2 separate regions of the Homo sapiens genome follow, and region 2 is linked to region 1. The links are contacts of gene promoters, found by promoter capture Hi-C in human tissues and cell types (Jung and others, 2019). All regions are on one chromosome and are shown on one strand. The core of a region is centred on a gene start or on the middle of the fragment in contact, and the rest is flanking DNA. Distances in the headings are between cores, read along the strand shown. Region 1 holds the start of DKK3 (dickkopf Wnt signaling pathway inhibitor 3). Region 2 overlaps MICAL2 (microtubule associated monooxygenase, calponin and LIM domain containing 2).

The links. The method cuts DNA at HindIII sites, captures the fragments that hold promoters and counts their contacts. A contact is called where the count stands out against the background at its distance.
Region 2: a contact is called between a fragment that was not itself captured here and the fragment with the promoter of DKK3 in region 1, in 2 of the 25 tissues and cell types used here (adrenal gland and thymus).

What each region holds. Positions count from the first base shown.
Region 1 is chr11:12,002,577-12,009,875 of GRCh38, reverse strand. DKK3 (dickkopf Wnt signaling pathway inhibitor 3) reads left to right here and starts at 1,250. Exons shown (of 7, transcript NM_001018057.2): 1 at 1,250-1,506. The coding sequence starts at 1,294. RefSeq lists an enhancer at 2,063-2,998. The HindIII fragment of the contact is 8,758 bases long and covers 1-2,611 here.
Region 2 is chr11:12,117,140-12,124,728 of GRCh38, reverse strand. The region is part of intron 1 of MICAL2 (microtubule associated monooxygenase, calponin and LIM domain containing 2); the gene reads right to left. Among named protein-coding and RNA genes, the nearest start is that of MICAL2, 10 kb to the right of the region's middle. The HindIII fragment of the contact is 5,960 bases long and covers 2,540-7,589 here.

The DNA of each region.
Region 1 (7,299 bases), core at 1-2,500:
GGAGCAGAGCTGGCTGCAGGTGTCTGGTCCTGACCACTCCTCTATGCCACCCTTGAGGAGCTTGCTGACTTTCTCATGACGTTCTCCCATTCCAGGAGCTGCAAGTGCGTTATCCTGGCTGGAGCACGGTGTCAATCACGGCAGACTAAGGCCAGCGGTGATGGCTTGAATGCCAGGCTGGGGGCTGGGATTTTTCCTGAGGATTTCACAGGACAGAGGTTGGCTTGGAAAGACCAAGGTGGGACTGAGGAACATTCCCCCTACCCCCAACCTCGGTGGGCTGTTGCAAGCCTGGAGGCCAGAGAAGACGGGCCTGGGATGCCGCGGGCGCAGGGGCAGGCAGTGAAGGAGATGGCTGCCTTCGGTAGAGCTGGTCGCTGAGGCAGAAGAGGAGGGCGTGGGGCGTGGGGCGTGAGGTGGCCGGCGCCCCGGCTGGCCAATGGCCGGGCTGCGGCCCCTCCGCGGGGCGGGGTGGGCCTGGTGGGCGGGCGGGGCTCGGGGCGGGGGCGGAGAGGGAGCCTGGTGGGCGGGCGGGGCGCGTCTTGCGGGCTCCCTCGGGTACCGGCGCTGCCGCACCCCGCCGCGCTCCCGCACCCGCGGCCCGCCCACCGCGCCGCTCCCGCATCTGCACCCGCAGCCCGGCGGCCTCCCGGCGGGAGCGAGCAGATCCAGTCCGGCCCGCAGCGCAACTCGGTCCAGTCGGGGTGGGTGAGGGGCGGCGGCGGGGGAGGGGACGACTCTGCTGAGCTCAGCCTCTCTTGGTGGATGTGGGGCGGGGCGCTCGAGTAGGACCCGACGCCAAGGGGAGGGGGCTGACCTGTGCTTGGTCCACCCCAGGTAGGGGCTGAGAGAGGCTTGAGGTGGAAGTGGGGGTCGGGCACTCTGACCTGGTCGAGGAGGGGCTAGGGTTTGAACCGGGGACAGAGTCTAGGTGAGCTGGGGCTTGGGAGCTATTAGCGTAGAGGATCCGGGTTCGGTTGCTCTGGCGAGGGCTCCAGCATCACAGGTGAGGAGCAGAGCTCAGCTTGTGCTCGAGGATGGGGGTGCGGGGTCCTGGGGCGATCGGGGCTCGGGCTGGAGCGGGTGGGGTCGCGTCTTTTCGGGTGTAGGGGAGCTGCGTTTTCAGGGGCCTCGGTTTCCTCCCGTCTCCGGGCGGGTGCGGGAAAGAGGGGCGCCAGGGGCGGGCGGCGGGGCGGAACGGGGCGGGGCGGCGGGCCCAGCGAGGGGGGTGGTCCGCGCGCCTCTGATCGCGTTCCGGGACACACAGGCGGCGGCTGCGGGCGCAGAGCGGAGATGCAGCGGCTTGGGGCCACCCTGCTGTGCCTGCTGCTGGCGGCGGCGGTCCCCACGGCCCCCGCGCCCGCTCCGACGGCGACCTCGGCTCCAGTCAAGCCCGGCCCGGCTCTCAGCTACCCGCAGGAGGAGGCCACCCTCAATGAGATGTTCCGCGAGGTTGAGGAACTGATGGAGGACACGCAGCACAAATTGCGCAGCGCGGTGGAAGAGGTGGGTGCGCCCTGGCGGCGCGGGGCTCTGAGAAGCGCCAGACTGGGGGCAGCGAAGTCTGGGAAGGCATGGAAGAGCGCTGGCCAGGGACCTCGGGTCCCGCGCAGGGCCTGGGAAGGGCCGACAGCAGATGCGGAGTGACCTGGAGGCAGCGCACGGTGATCCCTACTCCCGCCTCGTTTTGCCTCCTTGCCAAAAAGTCTGGATCTGAGCCTGTCCACCGAGAGGCTCTGCACTGGACCCTCCCTAGGTAGCTGGGGCCACCACCTGCCTGCAGTTGGCGTCAGGCATGCCGTTGGCCTTCCCTATTGTCAGCAGAGGTTTGCAGGGCCCCTGGTATTCCAGCACTGTGGTTTCACAGAAACCCGGGACAAGCTCCAGGCATCGCCAAGTTCTAGCTTGTCCGTTATGCTTTGAGCTTGTTAGGATGCCATGCAGGGACAAAGAGGCAAAGAGCCCTGAGCTTTGCTGGCAGTCTGTCTGGGCTGTCTTGCTTCTCACGCAATGTGGGGGCAGAGAGGGAAGATGGAAATCCTAAATCTCAGCACTGTATGAGTGGCGGATGAGGATGTGAGAGGCAATACCCCCTCCACCCAACGGTGCTTCGCAGTTGTCCTGGGCTCAGGTCCTCCTCTGCCACTCAGTAGCAGGGTGACATTGGGCAAATCACTTAATATCCTGCACCTCAGTTTCCTGTGAAAACTAAATGTCATATGTGTGGGCACCTGGCAAATAATAGGTGCGCAGTATTTAGCAACTATTATCAGATACCACGTACCTTAGCAAAGCTTTGCCTAGCTTCTGCCCTCCATCACCTCCAGGTCTAAACACTGTGGGTGGCATCTTGTTCTGTCCTCTGTGATGGTCACCCACGCATGCCCAGGGCTACCTGGGCAGGAGATGTCACTGGCCCAGCCCTCTCTGTCCAGGTGCGGGGAGCTGTCCCTGGTGCCTGGGGTGGGTAGACGAGGGCGCTGTTGGGCCCAATCTGTCTGTAGCCTGTGTCTATAGAGAGGAGCCAGCCGTCCTAGTGAAGGAGGCAGCAGGAAACCAATGTCCAGGCTGGTTGGCCCCTGGTCTGGCTTCACATCCCTGCTGTCTCCAGCTTGGTATCCCCCTTGGGCAAAGCCTTAACTGCTGGCCCTTGTCTCCAGGGGGAAGTTGCTTTCTCCCCGCAGCCCTTTGTAGTTTGGGGCTATTTCCCCTCCCACTCCACAACAGTTAGCCTGTGGAGTTTGCAGTGAAGGGGACACTGGCTTGGGAGGCAGTGAAATGGGCAGCTGTCCTTGAATATCCACTGGACAGGCCCAGATCCCAAGACCCATGATCTTTCTGTTTCCTGTGATTGCAAAACAATCATGACATGGAGCAATTAAAGGGTGAAGGGATTCAGATAGGCCCCAATGTCTCTTAACTCTGAAGCTTCAAATTAAGTGGAGTTTGCGATGCCTCTGGTTCTAGGGCAGGCCATCTGCTTTCCTTATCCAGGTTCTAGGACTTTCCCTCCTGCACACAGATTCCCGGTAAGACTGACTAAGTCACCTCTATGTTTTTGTGCCCACCACTGTTCAGAAAGTCTGCAGCGTGGTCCTCTGACGTTAGCTTCTGCTGAGGGAGGAGAGAGAGCAGCAAGGGCCTCTTCAGTCTCTTCTTGAGCAGAGCAGTGTGGGGCCCTGCAGGACCTAGTGACGGGGTCTTCTCCATGGGCGTTATCCAGACTGGATTTTGCCAAGACCCCAGCTTTCCTCCCTCTAGATGTGGCTCTGTGTAGGTTGGGGGGTTGAAGTTTGCCACCAGAGGAGATGTGGGCTGTCACTTCTACCCCACTCTTTCCCAGAGGTGTCCTCGCTGGCAGTGGGTACAGGATGAGAGAGGTTGAACACCATGGCAGGAGAAGAGGCAGTGGGGACTGATCTTCCCTCATCCAGTCCCTGCTCTGCCACTTACTGGCAGTGGCGTTCCGAGTCTGAAGTGGAGAAATGTCCACCTCTTAGGGTAAGGTGAGAATTAAATGAGATGCTGCAAGTAAAGCAAATCAGTGAGTTGGGCAGCTATCCCTGAATATCCACTGGTCAGGTCAAGAGCCCAAGATCCATGATCTTTGTTTCCTGTGATTGTGAAACTATCATGACATGGAACAATTAAAGGGTGAAGGGAGTCATATAGGCCCCAATGTCTCTTAATTCTGCAGCTTCACATTAAATTGAGCTTGTGATGCCTGTGGTTCTAGGGCAGGCCATCCGCTGACTGCCTAAAATGGGGTTAAGTAAAACACGTGTAATACAGGTAGCTTCATTGTGAGGTGGCTGTAAGGATGACATGATGGTTGGTTGTAAATAAGTAACAGGTATCATTATCATCATATTACTAGTAGCAGTATGAATGATAACAAAACACCACCAGTGTCTGATAGATTCTCAATAGAATCTATCTTTTAAAATATCTTAAACCATTAAAAATTAATCTTAAAATACTAAAAGTATCTTTTAGATATCTTCAAAAATAGAATACAATAGATTGTTTATAGACTGTGGTTATTAGTATTAACTTTTTATGGAGACTGCCAGAATGCCCCTTAAATCTCATAGACACAGGATAATTGGTATTTAGTCATTGTTCAGGGGAAAAATCAAAAAGGACCTGGGCCAGATGCATTATTTGTTTACATAGTTGCATCATGAATCTCCTTTCAAGTAACTTCCTGGCATTTTCAATGTTCCAGCTGAATCAAGCTGTTGAAGTTTCTTAAGGGGAAGGACAAAGCAGCTCTACTTGTACGGTCATTATTGGAAGAAGCATATCTTCAAATGGCTTCAATCTGGGATATTCCTACTTTCCTGTGTTACTATTCTATATGCTACCAATCAATGTATTCTGAAGATATAACCACTCTGTTTCTCTTCCCCTCATGGCCAGCTCTGTAACTCACTCATTTTAGAATGTTCTTACTGCCTCACCTATTTCTAGTATAAGTGCCATTTTTAATAGCATTCACATTCCTCCTCTACGAAACAGCTCCTTTTGCTTCAGACTTAAGTTTCTCTTGCTAGTGGCAATAATAGTTGCGGTTGAAATTTCCATTGTAAACTATACTTTTAGTTCATGGTGCCATTTAAGAACCGTTAGCTCATTCTGTTGAAATAACCAGTGGCTGAGCTGGGGGGAAAAGTTTTATAAAAAGACTATCTGCTCAGCCCAGAGCAAATTCTAGGTTTGGCAACTTGTCAATTATTTGAAAGCCAAACTGATCCCGATGGGAATTTTAAAAACACTAAAACATTCTCTTCTTCTGGGTGGGTCCTCTCCAGCACCTTCAGTCTTCTCTTCCCAGCTGCGTTTTTTTCTATCACTAACCAGAGTGGTAACTGAGGGCAAGGTCTCTTGCTTTTAAGGAAAGTCATTTTCTTGCCCATTCTGTCTTCTATCTCAGCCCCATTTCTTCTCCCCTTTGTTGGCAAGCTCTTCAAACACATGATATCAACGTTTGCTCTTCCTGCTTCTAGCTACCCATTCCCTTCAGAACTCTGGCAAAACAAACTGGCTTCTTTTGAAACTGCCTTCTTAAAGGGCAACGGGATAAAAACAGCTGTGTATTTCATCTTTGCTGTGTGGCAGATAGTGTATTTCATGCCTTAATTCTTATATCTACTGCATGGTCCTTAATTCTTATATCTACTCAACAAAGTAGGACATCCCTATTTTACAAATGAGCAAGCTGAGGTTTAGTGGGATTTGGTATCTTGCCTAAAGTCATACAGCTACTTTGTGGCAGAGCCAGGACTTGAACCCACCTTGTCTGACTCCAGAATCCTGGTACTTTCCACTGTGTTCCTCTCCGAGGATGCTGCAGGCAATGACTTGACTCATCCAGTGGCCATCTCTCAGTGGCTTGATCCTTCTAGACTTACTTAGAGTCTTTCCCACCTAGAAGGTCCCTACCCAGAAGTAGCTCCCATCTCCTAGACCTAATTCTAGCCAGTTTCCTGACTCCCCTCTCTTTCTGATCTACTCTTTATATTATTTCCCGCTAGCCTTCTGGAACTTGCTGTAGTTCCCTATTGCCTGGAACGGAGATTCTTAACTGGGGATCAGAGGGAGGGGAGGGAAATCCTCAGAATAAGCTGAGAAGCTCAGTATTATCAGGGTCTCATCTCTAGAAATCCCAATTCAGCGGGTCCATGAAGGGATCCAGATATTTCAATTTTTTAAACTTTTGGACCTGACTCTATAATCACAGCTTCCCCATAAGGTTGCTGTCAATATTCAAGGCATCTGGTGCAACGATTCAGACATAGTCAATGCCCCAAACGTGGGGGCTATTCTTAGAATTATTATTGTTATGAAGCCAGTGATCAAGTTTCAAACATCTCAGCAGCCATCTCAGAATCCAGCACAGAATCCGGCCACTGACTAAGTCCTTGTTGAGCCTTTCTGCCTACCAGGTTTTATTCACACTTTGAGTTTAGTGTTTTTGTGTTGCATTGAGACATGAGGATTCTTTCCTCTTATCCTCCTCAGCTCAGCAAACCTGGTGGTTAAAGCAGGGGCTCATCTAGTACTTAAGGGGATAGAGGACAGTGATTTTTTTAAATAGGAAAATACTTTTTGAGCATTCTTTTTTTAAAAAAAAAAATAAAAATAGCCCATAGTCAAAAATAGCAGTGTTGGAAAATTGCCAACTATCAGGTAGAACTTCTCTTTATGTCTCTCATTTGAAATTCCTAGAGAGAGTATCTGATTGGCTCAATTAGTCTATGATGTGGCCTCCCTTTGGGTCCCATCAGCTGTGAACAGGTCACATTGTCAACTGCCCACTCATCAGGGCCAGGACAGGGTGATAAATCTGGAAGGGGAAGTTGGGTGCAGATATGAGGTCACTGACATATCTGGTATAGATGTTATGGAGGATCATGAGCCTGGAGGATTTGAGGACAGCGGCCACAGAAACCTGACACCAGAGAAGAACATATGTCTAAGAAAACCAGAAGGGGTGTGGACCCCGGGAACTGGTTAACTGACCCTCTACAAGGGTCCCTCTGCAAGGATTTCCTACAAGGGTACCCAAGAGGCAGGGTGGGGAAGGAGACACAGCTGTGGCCCTACCTACAGGGAGTAAGTTTAGGTTCCCTCCATCCCCTGCCCCTACCACCACCAACAACAGGTCCTGCCACAAGGACTTAAGAGCAAATAGTGCATTTGGGATGTGCTCCCAGAAAACACTAGCAGGAAGTGGGAAAGTGTGATGAAAGAAAAGAAAGACAATCAACGGTATGCCTGCAAGCAGGTTACTGCTGCGGGCATCTAGGGCTCCATCCCACTGGAGGCCTTAGAGGGAGACTACGTAGATTCTACATGCTTTAGAATTGTCTAGCGAAGGGAGAAGCTAGACTGTTTACCTCCATAGCCTGACTTTCATTGCTAGGATGTTAACTCCCTAGCACTTGGGGCCTCTGCAGACTGAGCATACTTTGGTGACCAGAGAATGCCCTTAGAGAGAGACAGAGTTGGTTGTTGGCATGTATGGGAACTGGATACAGGTGACCTCCAGATTAGGCCACCAGGAGATGGGCAGGGCATCAACAGCGTTTACACAGGGAGCAAGACTATCTAGTGGAAACATGTTCAAATCCCAGCTCCACCCTTTCCTGGGACTCTGGGGAATTTATCTAGTCTTCCTGAGCCTCAGTTTCCCTATTTGTAATATGAGGACATTAACACCCACCTCCCAGAGAGATTGTGAAATTTCAGTGCTGTAATATATGTAAAACGTTTAGTATAATATCTTATCATAGT
Region 2 (7,589 bases), core at 4,270-6,769, 110 kb before region 1:
AGGGGAGCAAAGAACCAACACTGGAATGAAGAGTAGAGTGGAGATAGGGGTTTAGTGTTTTTGTTTTGTTTTTTAAAAAGGATATTTAGACATTTGCAATGACTTCAAGTCCCCTAGCCCGGGAAAGTGACCTCCCAGAGCACGGAAAACGTTCACAGATGAGATGCTAAGCTGCCTGGTGCAATCTCTGGGGAGCAGCCCAGGAACAGCTGAAAGCAACCTTGGAGCCCTCGAGGAGCTGAGAACACGTAACGTTAAGGCTGTTCATGTCCTTTTTGATGAAGCACTTGATAGTAGATGCAGAACTGCAATGGGCATGGCCTATCTAGCTTCAGAAAGGCGTCTTAGGTCAGAGAAGCAAAAGGACAGAGACTAGGCTAGGGGCGGCTTCAATCACTCTTCCCAAAGTCAGTCGGTCAAAGATCGCAAGTCCACTGAGGGGAGGTCTCCAGGAGTGTGACAGAGGGGTCCCTTCGATAAGCATTTATCATGACTTGGGTGACGCTGTGGAAGGCATACTTAAATAGGATTCTGATCAATGGAACAGGGCTGCACTGAATTTAACAAGTTGAAACTTAACAGGAATGATCATTCTGAATCAAGCAGGAGCAAAATAGGAGGCTCTGCCTTTAAATTCTAAAGCCACACAAGTTTAGGACAGGGGAGAAGCAGCTTAGCAACAGCACATGTTAAAAAGACCTAGTCAGCAGTAACGTCTGTGATGTGATGCTGCTGCCAGCAAAGCTCATAGAGTCTTGGGCTGCATTAAGAGAAGCAGAATGTCCGGAACTGGAGGTGATAGCTCCCTTCTTCTGCTGTCCTCATACCATAAATACAATATATGGTCTGGACACTGCCTTCGCTGTATAAAAAGATCTGAACAAACTAAGGCATGTTCAGAGGAAAACCACAGAGAAGGTAAAAATCCTGAACCCACACTGTGGGTTGTTAATCTGGAAGAAGATGCAGGAGAGAAACAGAGGGCTGTCTTTAAATAACGTATTTCACTGATCAGAAATGCATTTTTCCCATTATAAAATGTCTGAAAGCAGAATGTGTCTTAAAACCCCCTGAAACCTAACGATCTCTCCCGGGATGCAGCTGTGGCATAGCTGTCACCGCCTCACATATGGAAATTTGACTCATTCCTGGTGGCATATCTGAACAACCATGATCTAAAACATTTCAGGAGCCAATACTTTTAAGGACCATTTAAGGAAGGAATGTGAGTCCTGGTTGTTAACAAAAAAACTTTCATTGATGCCTTCTGGTAAAATCAAGAAAACACCAGAACTGACATAATGGGTGTCAGCAGCTGGAAAAAATTCCAGGGACAAGAGAGATGAAGAAATACATCCCCACCTGACTAGAAGAGAACAGTGAGTCAGAAAACCATGGACATTGATGAATCTCAGTCAAAAAGTGATTCAGAAGAGTTAGATTCTGAAAGCGAAGTTTTAGAAATGCCTTAACCAATTTACTTTTATATATATGCAAGAGTGATATAAAATAAAAAAAGTATGTCTAAAATCTTAAAAAATTCAGAAAATATAGAATAAAAATTTTAAGCAATGGCAAAGCATTGTGCCACAGTTTAATTGGCAGCTCTTTTTCTTTCTTGAGGGTACATGAAATAATGGTATATCTTTCAGTTGATGGTGTTAGAGATTTGATTAAAAAAAAACAATTTCTGAAGAGCTATTGGGTGGTAGACAGATTAGACCTACTCTCCATGGCACCCAAGGGGAAGAACTGGGACCAAATGCCAGAAGCTATAGGAAGCCATCAGGAAGGAGGAGTTCAAAGACAGGATGGATCACCTCCCACCTATAAACTCAGGCTAAACCACCACTGTGGAGTCAAGCATCCAGTGGGATTGATGATAAGGCTCTCCCAGACCTGCAGTTCCAAGGTTTATGAGAAGAACTTCTCACCAGGAAGCGAAAGGTGGCCCATCGTTCTTCACTGCACACACAGGTGCTTTGACTGAGCCATTCCCTTTAAAAAGTCATTAAAGGCAGGCCAGGCGCGGTGGCTCACTCCTGTAATCCCAGCACTTTGGGAAGCTGAGGCAGGCAGATCACTTGAGGTCAGGAGGTTGAGATCAGCCTGGCCAACATGGAGAAACCTTGTCTCTACTAAAAATACAAAAATTAGCCAGGCGTGGTGACACATGCCTGTAATCCCAGCTACTCGGGAGGCTGAGGCAGGAGAATTGCTTGAACCTGGGAAGCAGAGGTTGCAGTGAGCCAGGATCGCACTACACTGCAGCCTGGGTGACGGAGTGAGACTCTTGTCTTTAAAAAACAATTAAAAGTTATTAAAGGTAAAAGGCACTTAGGGGCCAGTACCGAATGAGAGGCCTGCGGCAACAAGGAACCCTGCCCACATCTGTGCTCCAAGGCTCCTGTGGGCCAATTCAGGAATGAGCCAGAGGGGAAGAGGCCACCTGCAGGCCACTATGTGCCAGGCACCATGAGAGGTGTGCTACGCCCATTACCCCATTTAATCCTCACAACCTCCCCGTGAGGTAAGTAGCATCACTCCCATTTTACAGAGAACAAACCCAAGGTTCAGAGATAGTATGTGTGTGGCTTGTCCAGTGTTTACAGTGACTGAAAACCCATGGTCTGTCTGTGACAGCATGCTTCAAATTGAGAGTACTCCAAAAATCTTGGCTGACAGAATGAATGCACTGAGCAATCAATTTATCAATCAGTGAACAAATCAGCTTGTTCTCATATGGGTAGCACTGATCCTAGGAGAAAAAAGAAAGCAAGCCCATTTCAGTGCCCCACCCCAAATCCCATCAATACCTCCCATCAATAGCACTAAACTCATTACATTTGCTGCTTGCGGGAACAATTTATTCCATCACATAAAGCAAAAGTGTCCCTGAGACATACATGGAAGAGAACAGGTGCCAGCCCCGCTCAAATGTCAAAGCTGAAAATGCACCAGGCTGTGGTGCCTCCCATCTGCCAGCTTAACACGGGAGCAGGCGGAAGCAGAGCTCAGCCTTTATCCACCTCCCTGTGGCCACGATGGCCAGAGGGCTGGGAGGCAACCAACCCCCTACCTGCTCCACCTGTCCAGGCCATTCAGTCCAGCTCCAGGTTTGCCAGCCTCTGCAAACTCTCTCTTCAACTAGAGAAGGAAACTCAATGTGCACACAGGAAACCCAGGGCAGGATGCACTTGAAGGGGATATTCAGGTGATTGTGAGGCTGTGCAGAGGAGAGAATCAGCATCATTCCAGATGATGTACAAATGCTCTGACAGCCGCTGACTCCTACAGAGCCAATTCTTCCAAAGGCGCTTTCTTTGGAGGAGGTGGTCAGCTGGGTTCCTGCACCATCCCAGCTTTGCTGCCTCCCTCACACACAGACAGGGAACTCCTGCTCCTGCTCCAGCAGTAGCCCCCAGAGGAGCTCAGCACCTCGACTGCCCTATTTATTCCCCTCAAATTGACCTTGAGTCAGGAGAAGATCCGTGTGAAGAGCTTAGCCCGCAGCGAGGTGGTGAAAGTGAAGCAGACGCTGTTTGCTACACAGAGTCAAGAGCCACCAAAGCTCAGACAGCCACACTTGGGTGTACAAGCTGCAGAATGTGACAGATGTCCCATATCCTAAGACCCTAACCAGGAGTTCCAAAAAGGGCTGCCCTCCTGATAAACCAAAGACAACATTTTGCTTGCAGACTCCCTTCACAAAGAAGGCTGTGGGTCAAAAGCCAGGATACAGACAAAGTCTTTTTGGGGGCCCAGCCTTACTGCCCCCCACCCTGTTCCCCACAGCCCTCCTCAGTCCAGGGGAATGGCAGCTGTCTGGCAGTGTGCACCTCCCGTGAACGGAGGGCAGTGCCCTGAAGGATGACTCTGACTATCCCTCTCTGACAGCTTCCCACAGTCCGCTGGGTTCAGTCCACACCCACACCGCCCCCAGAACTCAGGGCTCTCCATGCCTCAGAGCAGCCTGATTCCAGCCTCAGCTTCTCTAGGCAGCCCTCACGTTTCTACCACATGGTACCCTGACTGTGCCCTCACTTTTCTACATCTCTTTGTGCTGTTACCTCTGCCCATCTCTGCCTATGGAAATCATACCTATCTTCCAATACCCTTCTCAATCTACAAACTCCACCTCCTCCAGGAAGCCTCCCCTGGTTCCCCCCTACTGTGGGACTCTGTGGACATTCCATACTCTGTCTCGGTGTTCAGCCACAGGTGAGCTTGTCTAATGCACCTCCCTCCATGAGTTAGAAGAGCAGGCAGCTTCCACCAGTCATCACAGGGACTCTAGCCCAGCAGCTGCACACTGTGAGCTCCGAGCCTGGGCCTATGGCTGTTGATGCCCCCAGCACCCTATTTGCCATCTCTCAGGATTCCCTCCTCCTCCTGTTCCCAGCTGACTCATCCTATGCCCCATCCTCTTAAGGTTCAGCCCTTGGCTGACAGCTAATCAAAGATAAACTCATCTCTGTCAACATATGGTCCTTCCCAGTTAACTTCTGTATTTTTAACAAAGGGCTTCTGCGGACAAGGGCTAGGAACAAAGGTGGGAATTCTAAGCCCCAAGGCTCTGGGGGAGGTGTTCATGATAAGAAAAGATCTTGGGACTGAGACCAGCCAGTGCTACAAGCGTACACAGCATAAATTCAAAGAATGTGGGAGGTTTTAGAAAGGGAGGATGAGGCTCTGTCCTTCGGTACACGCAGCCAACTGTAAGCACAGCTGCCTTAGACTGATCAAGGACCACAGCCTGGTGGGAAATGGTAGATGGAAAAGAGACCTGACTCTGACCTGGCTGGGTGACCTTGAGCAAGAAACACACCTCTCTGTCCACTCAGCATCAGGAAGCATCCGAGTGTCAGTTTCTCCATAGGTAAAACAAGGTGGCCAGGATGAGAACTACACCATCCCATGAGGCCCATCCAACCTGACATCCCAAGGCTCTGTGACTCATGGCCTCTGTGGCCTCCTCCCTCCTGGGAGGTCAGTGTCATTTGAAACTACCCCACTCTCAAGCCCCACCTGAGTCCAAAGGGAAAGGGAGAGCTAGAGATCTCCCAGCCAATCCGCAGGCGGCCTATGAGGGCGGGCCTCAACCACTGCAGGTGGAAAGAAGGGGCAGAAGTGGGGGAAAGGTGTTGCATTCTATGCTCTCATTCATGCCATCTGTCTCGGCCTAGACAAAAGACAGTCAGCCAGTTGCCTTCACCTCCTTGGCCTACCTTTTTTAGAGATTACAACTGTCTGCTGAATTTAAGTGCTGCTCTAAAATCAGGACATATAAGGTCTCTCAGGCTGGATTTGAAGGGTTTCATAATGGATAGAGCATAAGAGCGATGAAGAATTAAACTTGGAGGCAATCTAAGCTGTATTGTGCAGCCATGCCAATTAAAGATCTTTAAAAATAGCCTCTCTCCTCTCATGCCGTAGATGAAGTTTCAGCAATAAACAGACATCTGCTAGGAGCTTCTGAAGAGATACAACATAAACACCCCAGAGAGCAGCCATAAACAGCCCACAGCACTCTCCAGGCGGCAGGCAGCATCCTGTTCACGAGGGGAGGAGGGGGGAACCCAGAGCCCAGGGAAACGGAGAAGAGGGTTCAGGGGTCAAGGGCAGAGGAGGAGGTGGTATCCAGTGGCTGGGAAGGATGGAGGTTGGCTCCCTACAGGAGGAGGAAGTAGTGGGGCCAACTCAACTTGGTAGAAAATGGAGAACTGGCTGCCTTCTGCAGGGAAAGAAAAGCTCAGGAACCCACCTAGAGGATTTTCAGAAAGCCATCCAGAGGACTCCATACCAGTGTCATTCATTCTGGCAATGGGTCACTCGTTAAATGTGAAAAAACAAAACAACAACAACAACAAAAACCCTGACATTTTGGAGTGCATATCCAGGCAAGGGACTTCACAAATATTTTAATTTCATCTCCAGATCAAGCTCTTGTAATAGGTATAATTACCTCCTTTATGTAGACTAAAATACTAGGATTCATTAACTCGCCCAAGGCCACAGGGCTCGGATTTGAGCCCAGGTCTGTCTTAGTGCTTTTTGTTTTTGCCTATGTCACCTGCATCCACAACATGCCCCTGAGGTTTATTCTCAGATTCCAGGCTCTTTGAACCCCCAAATCGAACACAAGGGGACTCCTAAAGGAGAGAGCTGGCAAAGTAGAGTGGAAGGGGAAATGGTTAGGCCTTGGCCAAATGAGACAATGGCCAAGTCTCTGCAGCCCTGTGGGCCCTGTCTCTTTACATCCTGGTTGCTTCTTCAGCAGGCCGCAGGAAGAGCAGAAGGGGAACAGGCACCAGGACATGCCTAGACTATGTCTGGAAGGATCCACAGGGGGCTGGGGACAACAGCTGCCAAAAAAGTAAGAACTGAGGGCTGGAGGACAGGGAAAGAAGGGAGATGTACTTTTCATTCAATTTCCTTTGTACTGAGTGGATATCTTACCGTGCATCTATGTGTGCGTGTGAAGGTAAGTCCTATGCATCTATGTATGTGTGGGATGAGTACCACACACATATGTATGTATGTGTGGGTAAGTCACTTTTAAGAAAGCCCAAGATACAAGATAACCAACACGCCCAAGCAAGACCTTCTAGGTCATCTGGTTGGGGCAAACCTGGAATCCAGAAGAAGCCTGAAATTTCACACAGTGCTTCCTCCTACTCCTCCTTCACAACAGTAATGTGTGGCAACTCCAGGCATGTGGCCGGGAAGCTCTCCCGACATGGACCCCATGGTCCCCAAGGCTCCAACTGCATGAGCCTCACAGGACATTCCCTGAAGAAAAAGGCTGAGTGAATCCTCTCCCTGAGGGTCTGGAAAGAGGTTGGAAATCCCCTTGTGTGTTTCTCTATTCTGTTTTCCTTTCATTTAGTCATCAGACAAATGATGTAGCCTCCTTCTTACAAGCAGGGAGATCCTGATCTTACTACCTTTGCATCAGATTGTGCAAAGCCTGGCTGTCCTGATACATGGAGCTGATTTGACAGCAGCCACAGACTCTACACACAGCACCCAACCCCCATTCTGCTCCTTTTGGATGAACAGTTGTCCAATGAGGGCTCAGCAACCAAGCCCCTGGCAGACCCTGGGCCCACTCTGTTTCAGAGGGCAGCTCTTGTTAGTGAGAGCTGCTTCTTCAGTCTCCCCTACACCTCATTATCCTGGCTCCAACACACTATATACTGAGATCCTGCAAAGCTTCACCAGATAAGTCAGTATTCAGATAAGTGGCCAGGGCCAGCCATTCAGAGTCGTGGGAACAAAGAAGTAGTTTCTGCACCTCAACATGTTGGTACTGCTGCAGCAAGGCCAGAACAGGGTGTTCTTAGACTCCCACTCGTGTCTCCAGCATGTGCTGGGCTTCCAGGCTGTGTGCGTCAAGACCTTAGGTCTGGAGATGTCCCAGAAACCTGCTGTTGCAGTGGCTCAGAGGCCAGGGACCACCGTCCAACCCCTTGCTGCCCTCCTCTTGCTGCCAGCAGAAAGAACATCTGCACTAGACATTCTCTCTTGCCCAGCAAAGGAGAAAAACCTGAGCCCCAAACCAGCAGGAAGCACAGCTCCGGTTCTTC